Regions from separate parts of the Homo sapiens genome. Here region 2 is linked to region 1. The links are contacts of gene promoters, found by promoter capture Hi-C in blood cells and fetal thymus (Javierre and others, 2016). All regions are on one chromosome and are shown on one strand. Each heading gives the region's core, a stretch centred on a gene start or on the middle of the fragment in contact. The rest is flanking DNA. Distances are from core to core; before and after follow the strand shown. Region 1 holds the start of GNPNAT1 (glucosamine-phosphate N-acetyltransferase 1). Region 2 has its middle 150 kb from the start of DDHD1-DT.

Region 1 (4,183 bases), core at 476-2,975:
CATTTTTTTAAATTTTTGTTTGTTTTGAGACAGGGTCTTGCTCTGTGGCCCAGACTGGAGTGCAGTCTTGCAATCATGGCTCACAGCAGCCTCTGCCTCCCGGGCTCAGGTTATCCTCCTACCTCAGCCTCCTGAGTAGATGGGACTACAGGCACATGCCACCATGCCTGCCTAATTTTCAGTATTTTTTTTTGTAGAGACAGGTTTTTACCATGTTGCACAGACTGGTCTCAAACTCCTGGGCTCAAGAGATCCACTTGCTTAGGCCTCCCAAAATGTTGGAATTACAGGTGTGAGCCACTACGCCCAGCCATGAGTGTTTATTTTATTTATGCCTTACATATTCTTTTTTTTTTTTTTTTTTTTTTTAGAGACAGGGTCTTGCTCTATTGTCCAGGCTGGATTCAACCTTGTGGGCTCAAGTGATCCTCCTGCCTCAGCCTCTGGAGTAGCTGGGACTACGGATGCATACCACCACATTCTGCTCATGCCCTATATATTCTTTTGTATGTATGGGTGTAAAAACAGAGATAAAAACAGAGATATGGATGCCATCAACTCACTGATGTTTGAAGTTCTGAGAAAGCATAAATCAGTAAAGGAGTTAACTGAAATTTAAATCTCACAAATGAGCAAAAAATATGATTTCTGGTATATGATCTATGGGGTTCTTTGAATACTATTGCTTAAGAATAAAATACTTTGCGATTTCAATAAATTGAAAATTATGGTACAAGGCAAGGAAGGGGAGCTACTAGCTATGAGACTTTTGTAAATTATGTAACATCTCTGAACCTCTGTTTCCTCATCTGTTAAAATAGGGACAAAGTGCTACTTAGGTAAGACACTTCAGAAATGGGGCTCTGAAAAAAGTCACTTTTCTTCTCCTAACGAAAGGTTTCTAAACCTCAGCACTCCAGACATTTCAGGCCAGGTAATTCTTTGTTGTGCGGCGCTGTCCTGCGCACTGTAAGGCGTGAAGCAGTATTCCCGGCCTCTACTCACCTGTGCCCTCCACCATCTGTAGATTCCAATGACATCTCACCCCAGATGAGAGGCTGAAAATGATTCATACATTGCCAAATGTCTCCTGGGAGGCAAAACTGTTGCAGTGGAGAACCGCTGTCCTAACCCCATGTTCATCCAATAAAGGGTTTGAGGGACTGAGAAATGAAACAATAGTCCCGAAGGAGTAGAATGCAGTGGCCCCAACTCCTAGTTTCATGAAGGCAGGAACTGTGACTCAGAGGCCTGGGGATGCGGAGCTCTGAACTGCCAGCTGGTAGGAAAAGTCCTAATTAATGGATTGAATCATGAAGGGAGGGCAACAAGGAACAAATGGAGAGGGCCAGTGGCCGAGCCTTCGGTCTCAGGATCAAAGAGGCCCACACTGGTCACCACTTACGCTGCTGGGCTGACTGCTAGGTAGACGTATCTGCAGATAAACCGAGACAATGACGCGGTGGGAAAGGCCTTGGGGAGCGAGGAGGAGGAGCCGGGAGAGGCCAGCTTTGGTCCGGCGGCCACCGCCCCAGGCGCCGCGACTCGAGCCTCAGGCCCCGCCCCTCGCCCTCCTGGTCCCGCCCCCGCTCTCCGAGCCCCGCCCCTCGCCCTCCTGGTCCCGCCCCCGCTCTCCGGGCCCCGCCCCTCGCTCTCCGGGCCTGGGCGGGTGGCGCCTTGGCCTCCGCCTCCGCTCGCCTGCGCGCGGCCCTGCGTGAGGGGGCAGAGGCGAGGTGGAGGCGTTGGCGCTGCCACGTCTGGGCCGCGGTTCCCAACTGTGGCGCGGGCGGTGGAGGAGGAGGTGGGGCTGGCGCTGAAGCCGGATCCGGATCCGGTGCTGTGCACACTGGTGGGGGAGAGTCCGACGCGCCTGGCTAGGAGCGCCGACCGCAGGGCCTCTACGGGTGAGGAGGGACCGGGGCCGGGGCGCGAGAGCAGGACCGTGTGTCCTGGGGGCTGGGGCGGGCCTGCCCTCAGGTTTATCTAACAGGTGTGTCTGGTGCCCCGGCCAGGCCCCCGGGGGTGTTGTGTGGAGGAGCTGGGCGTTAATCCTCGCCAGCTGGGTGCACATGGTGTGGAGCGCGGTTCCCAGGAAGTTGAACGCACGCGCGCCTGGAGCAGAGGTTAAGGATGATGGCCAGCGGTCCGGCCATACGCTGGTCTTGGCCTGGCAGGGCTGGAACTGGGACTGGGGTCGGAACTTCGCTCCCCAGACTTTGGCGTGGGAAATGAGACAGTTGGTCGCGCTCTCTGCAGCCATCGGTTTTGAATGGGCACGAACGTCCCAGGCCCCTTCTCTTCTCCCATTCCCGGGCGCATCCCACGGTGGTCGGAGCCATTGAGGCAGCTGCTCCGAAGACCACCTCCGCACCGAGTAGGTCGGCGCTTTCCCCAGGGTACAGAGGGACATTCTTTGTCTCTTTTTCCTAGGCTCCTACCCCTAGAAATACCGAGTACTGTACTGTGATTTCTGTTGCGGGAGCTGATGTTTATGTAAGCCAAACTAATTTAAAATTTTCATACAAAATTGAACGGGCGATTATAGGATTCGTTTTGTTAGGATAATCCCTCATGAACGAATCCTAGAATGGATCTTAAGAAATTAATTTAGGCAGGATTTGCTAAATAGGGGAGAGAGCGCTAGCTGTATGGTATGATGATGTAAAGATTGGGGTCTGTTGAGGATGGTAATCGAGCTCAAGATGCGAAAACGAGGATTCTAGCCCCAAGTCACTTACTTGCTGTGTTACCTAAGGGGCAAGTCTTGGGAGTTCCAGGTGCTCCAGCTTCCTCATCGGTAGACTGGGAATAACGCCTAGATTGTAAAGGTCAAACTATCAGAAAATACTTTTGAACATTCATGCAGTTACACAATTTAATAAATATGGCCAGGTGTGTTAAAAATCTTTAACGGAATAGATTCAGAATGGATTCTTGTTATCGAAATTGTTATAAAATGAATATAAAGGAATCCGAAGTCCGCCCCTCCCCCATTCACCTGTACTTAGAAGGTTCCCCAGGAGCTCTTGAGAAATACATAGGCTGGTTTAGATTTGGCCTTAGATTGTATTTTTTAAAATTTGTAGATCGACTTTTAAAATCTTCATCTCCGGTGTCTATTACTTGTTGCTCTCCGTTGGTTGCTTCTAGCAGCAGCCTCTCTCCCCATTCGTATTCCAACCTGATACAGAGGCTCAGACGCCAAATAGTTGAAGTTTTGTTTAAAAAATATTCAATTGAGTGAAAAAATATTCAACTGATGTGATGACTAGTAAAAATGAATTTGGTGTATGCTTTCCGCGATATTGTGGCAGTTTGGGAATTTTTTTTTTTTTTTTTTTTTTTGTCCTTCTGGATTTTCTGAAATGTGACCTACAGGTAAGTCTTATTCGTTATTCATTCACTAGGCATTATTGGGCTAGGGTTAGGCTTAAACGGGTCTTCTAAACGCCTGCTAATTTAGCAGTTAATCAGAAAAGGTTCTGAGGAATACTTAAGGAGGATTAGTGTTTAAAGTTCATCTAAAAACTTTAAAGAACCTAATGATATGATGAGATTCCGCTTCACACAACTGTGCAATTTTATTCGCAGAAATTTCCTAGTTTTGCAATATCTGGGCACCTGAAGATGCTAAAAGATTATTTATATAAAATTACTTATTTAATTATGTTCTAAACCCCCTTGGAACCAGGTTTCAAGTCATATCTTGCTTCACTTTGCCCAGTACCTTAGTTGGGCACCAGCAGAATTTTACGGTTTGAGGACAGAGTGAGCTAAAGTGGGCCTTCAGTATGGCTCTGTTTTGTAGAATAGCTCATAAAAAAATTTTTGATGTTAATTTCTGATTGCCTGGTTAATAGATTCTTATTTCAATCTGTAATGCTTTGTTTAATGTATTTTGACTAGTCTGATTCCCATTTTCCAAATGTAGGTTCTAAGTGCTGCTTATGACTTAATTTTTAACCCTTGTACAACAGTAAGATAGGGAATTTATCTACTCTAGTGCATCTTCAGTGTAATGGTTAAGAGCAGAGTCTGAAGTCATACTACCTAGCAGGACTGGCTACGTAATCTGTGGTAATCCAAATTAAAATGCAGGGTTCCTTGTTAAAAAATTAAGAACTTCAAAACAGTGGCAGCAGGGTATCAAACTTAAGTGCAGGGCCCTGTGTAACGGCACAGG
Region 2 (4,183 bases), core at 680-3,179, 520 kb before region 1:
TATTGATTTGCACATGTTAAACCATCCCTGGTATGAAACCCACTTGATCACGGTGTATTATCTTTTTGATATGCTGTTGAATTTGGTTAGCTAGTATCTTGTGGAGGATTTTTGCATCTGTTTTTATCAGGGATATTGGTCTGTAGTTTTCCTTTTTTTGTTATGTCCTTTCCTGGTTTTGGTATTAGGGTGATGTATTGGTCTGTTTCCATGCTGCTGATAAAGACATACCTGAGACTGGGCAATTTACAAAATAAACAGGTTTAATGGACTACAGTTCCACATGGCTGGGTAGGCCTCACAATCATGGTGGAAGGCAAGGAGGAGCAAGTCATGTCTTAAATGGATGGCAGCAGGGAAAGAGAACTTGTGCAGGGAAACCTCTTTCCCATGTGAAAGACCTACCCCATGATTCAATTACTTCCCACCAGGTCCTCCCACAACACATGGGAATTCAAGATGAGATTTGGGTGGCAACACAGCCAAACCATATCATTTCACCCCTGGCCCCTCCCAAATCTCATGTCCTCACATTTCAAGACCAATGATGGCTTCCCAACAGTCCCCTAAAGTCTTAACTCATTTCAGCATTAACTCAAAAGTCCACAGTCAAAAGTCTCATCTGAGAAAAGGCAAGTCCCTTCCACCTATAAGCTTGTAAAATTAAAAGCATGTTAATTACTTCCTAGATACAACAGGGGTACAGGCATTGGGCAAATACAGCCATTCCAAGTGGGAAAGATTGACCAAAACAATGTTAACAGATGTTGGCACGGATGTGGTGAAAAGGCAACACTTTTATACTTCTGGTGGGTATGTAAACTGGTACAAACACTATCGAAAATAGTATGGGGATTCCTTAAAGAACTAAAAGTAGAACTACAATTTGATCCAGCAGTCCCACTACTGGGTATCTACCCAGAGGAAAATAAGTTATTATATGAAAAAACACACTTGCACACACGTTTATAGCAGCACAATTCTCAATTGCAAAAACATGAAAGCAACCAACAAGTGGATAAAGAAAATGTGAGATACATACATACACACACACACACACACACACACACACACACACCATGGAATACTACTGAGCCATAAAAAGGAATGAAATAATGGCATTTGTAGCAACCTGGATGGAGTTGGAGACCATTATTCTAAATGAAGTAACTCGGAAATGGAAAACCAAAAGTCACATGTTTTCATTTATAAGTGGAAGCTAAGCTATGAGGACCCAAACACCTAAGAATAAAATAATGGATTCTGGGGACTCAGGGTGAAGCGTGGGAGGGGGGTAAGGGATAAAAGACTACAAATAGGGTGCAGTGTACACTGCTCAGGTGTACCAAAATCTCAGAATCACCACTGAAGAACTTTTCCATGCAACCAAACACCACCTGTTCCCCAAAAAAAACTATTGAAATTAATTAAATAAATAAATAAATAAATACCTATAGAAGCCCTAAAAACTAAAAGGTTACAAGACTACTACTTCCCATATATACAATGTTAACACATAAAATCGGTATAAAGAAATTAATAAAGGTAATTTTTCTCAGAATGACCATTTTGATAAGTTTTTTCATATATCAAATTATTTCCAAAATATTTTTGGTACCACTGCTTGAGTACAGGCTTAATCTGCCTACTTGATAACCCAATATTATATATACAGGTAGGCAGATGAATGAAAAGAATGAAAAAAGAGGTAGATGAGAGATAGACATATAGATGAATAGGGGCTATATTTTAACTGCTCACATAATATTTCAAAGTCTATTTAAATGAAGATACGAGATTAATTAGAATGTTATCTATATTCCTCAAAAATGACTCTTCTTCTTGCAAAGGTAGATTATGGTATTCTAAAACTTAAAAGGACTACAGAAATCATCATGCCAACCACTTTCCAGATGAGGAAACTTAGGCTAAAAAGATAAAAGCCAGGATCACACAGTTGGTGAGTGCCAGAATGAAACCAGATCCTAAATGTCCTGCTATCTAGCAAAGCAGTTCTCTACAATACAATCCCACCTTCCTTGATAATACTAAGTTGCTTAGCAAACAAGATCTTCATAAATGTTGCAAGGATAAATTTCCTTTCAGTCTGCCCGAAGCAAATAACCACAATTTGCTTAGTATTAGTAAAACTCAGATCATCTAGGCATTGTCACCCCTTCAAGTTGCCCTCAGAGTGGGACAGTCAACTTGGAACAAAGTTTGACTTAACACAAGTTTCCCAGGTCTGAGAAATATGGCAAGAGGTGGGATTTATTGTTGTTGTTGCTTATCAAAACAGTGAGAAATGGCATGTTAATCAGCGAAGGACAAATTGTGGCTGTCATTTCCTTTTTCTCTAAAAGGTAAATATGTATAGACTGCAAATCATGTCCAGGAGAACTTATTTCTCACATCCCCATCCATCAGTTTGCTCTCAACTGCTCTCAACAAAGTGAGGAACCAGCTTTAAAATAGCTCTGAAATGGAAGGCTACTCTAGGTATGAAATATCCCATGGACCAAACCCAATAATCTCACTTCTCTTGAGTGCTCTCTTATTCTGACATCCAGCATGGTCACAAATAGCTTTTAAAACTGGACCAGGTACAGAAACCAGTCAAAGAAAATAAGAGGATAAAATTTGGAGAAGCCCGTCATGGATTTTAGCTTCCAAGCATATCACCAAAACTGTAATGTTCAACAACTTAAGCAGACATTCTCAGTGACTTCAGTTGACTTCAATGAATTCTGTTTCAGTCCATTTACCACAAAACAGTATGCCAAGGAAGGGACCCCACAGAGAGGAACTTCTCCTATCTAGTCATACCCTACCAACTCAGGTCTGAGGTCCTGATACTAAAAAGCTAAGTAACAAAGAAAATAATTTTTGTGCCTCTGAAGCCATTTTTCGAGGTGAGATGTTTCGCTCCTAGCCAAGCAAAGCTGCAGAATCTGTAGAATGTTGTCTTGCTCCCTCCTTGTCACCAGCCTGCCCTTTAACCCACCACTGAATGCCCTTTTTCTGCTCCAAGACAGCTATTGAATCACCACATTATACTCCCTGACCCTGCGGGGCCATGGTACAATATCAGAATGTCAAACTGGGTCTGAAAAGGGCTTTGTGTGGGATGAGACAAGACTCTAAGGATAGTAGAGCTGCTGAATCACTCAGGATCTGACCACAAATAGTGCTACGCTAAGCTTGCTGGGTAAAACTGCTGCCAGAAGCCCCTGTTAAATTTCTGGGCTAATTATGGAGGGTGGGAGGGTGACCTTGGAGGCAAGTTGTACTTAACACAGAGACCAGGAAGCCTAAGGGAAGAAACCCAAGTTGTACATCCTCATAAATACAATTTAAAATTCTCTAATTTAATAAAAGCATGCGATCCTACGACAAGGTAGTTTTCCTTAGGAGCAGGTGCACTGCAATTTTTTTTTTAATTTTCATATTAAATCTTCAGAGAGTTACACGGTAGATGGCAGCCTGGAAATACGCTGATGTATCCTGGCAGAATTTCAGACATAATGATTTTTTTTTCCTCTGTAAATCTTCCATCAGTGGGAAGGAAAGCCCTGCCAAAACTGAGAAACCCAAGCTGGAGGCAGCGAGGCTCCCACTCAGAGCACGGCGACATGCCAAGGCTTTCAAGGCCAAATCGGAAACAACCACGTTGAGTTCATTAAAACGACTGAATGATCAAAGTCATGCAAGCCTTCACAAAGGCAAAAATTAATCTGTTTAATACTTGGCTAAATTCTCAAGTGCTAAAGTAAATTTGAAACGAAATTCATCAAACTCCCCCTCTTCCTGTGGAAAAATCCTTTGAGTTCCTCAGAGTGCCCAGCAGATGGCAGAAGCGGTCTTTGTTTCAATCCATGGGCCTCAGCTACCGCGCCATGCCCAAAATTAACGGGAATAGGTACACCTGGGTATAGTTGTATATCTGAATGTGAAAATACACTTTCAGGATATCAGGAATTATATTCCAGTATGGCTAGGGTTATTCTCAGTTATCAATCTCGAGGGAGGAAACGTCCCCAGGAAGTGGTACCAAAAGATGACTCTTGCACATCAATGAAAAGGCCTGTGGAAGGACGACAGTCCAACTACTGGAACCCTGTTTTTATATCTCTCAGGAGCCTCCCACCATGCCCACCCCTCATCTCCCTCCCATTTCCTACTC

What was found. The method cuts DNA at HindIII sites, captures the fragments that hold promoters and counts their contacts. A CHiCAGO score of 5 or more calls a contact.
Region 2: a contact is called between a fragment that was not itself captured here and the fragment with the promoter of GNPNAT1 in region 1, in 3 of 17 cell types (erythroblasts, M2 macrophages and fetal thymus). The highest score is 8.9, in erythroblasts.

The regions. Positions count from the first base shown.
Region 1 is chr14:52,789,149-52,793,331 of GRCh38, reverse strand. GNPNAT1 (glucosamine-phosphate N-acetyltransferase 1) reads left to right here and starts at 1,725. Exons shown (of 6, transcript NM_198066.4): 1 at 1,725-1,904. LOC105370500 (a long non-coding RNA gene) reads right to left here and starts at 1,544. Exons shown (of 3, transcript XR_943867.3): 1 at 1,006-1,544. RefSeq lists enhancers at 1,103-1,617, 1,618-2,131, 2,239-2,328, 2,409-2,498 and silencers at 1,529-1,748, 1,849-1,928. The HindIII fragment of the contact is 20,059 bases long and covers 1-4,183 here.
Region 2 is chr14:53,306,047-53,310,229 of GRCh38, reverse strand. No RefSeq gene overlaps it. Among named protein-coding and RNA genes, the nearest start is that of DDHD1-DT, 150 kb to the right of the region's middle. RefSeq lists an enhancer at 3,685-3,979. The HindIII fragment of the contact is 2,546 bases long and covers 657-3,202 here.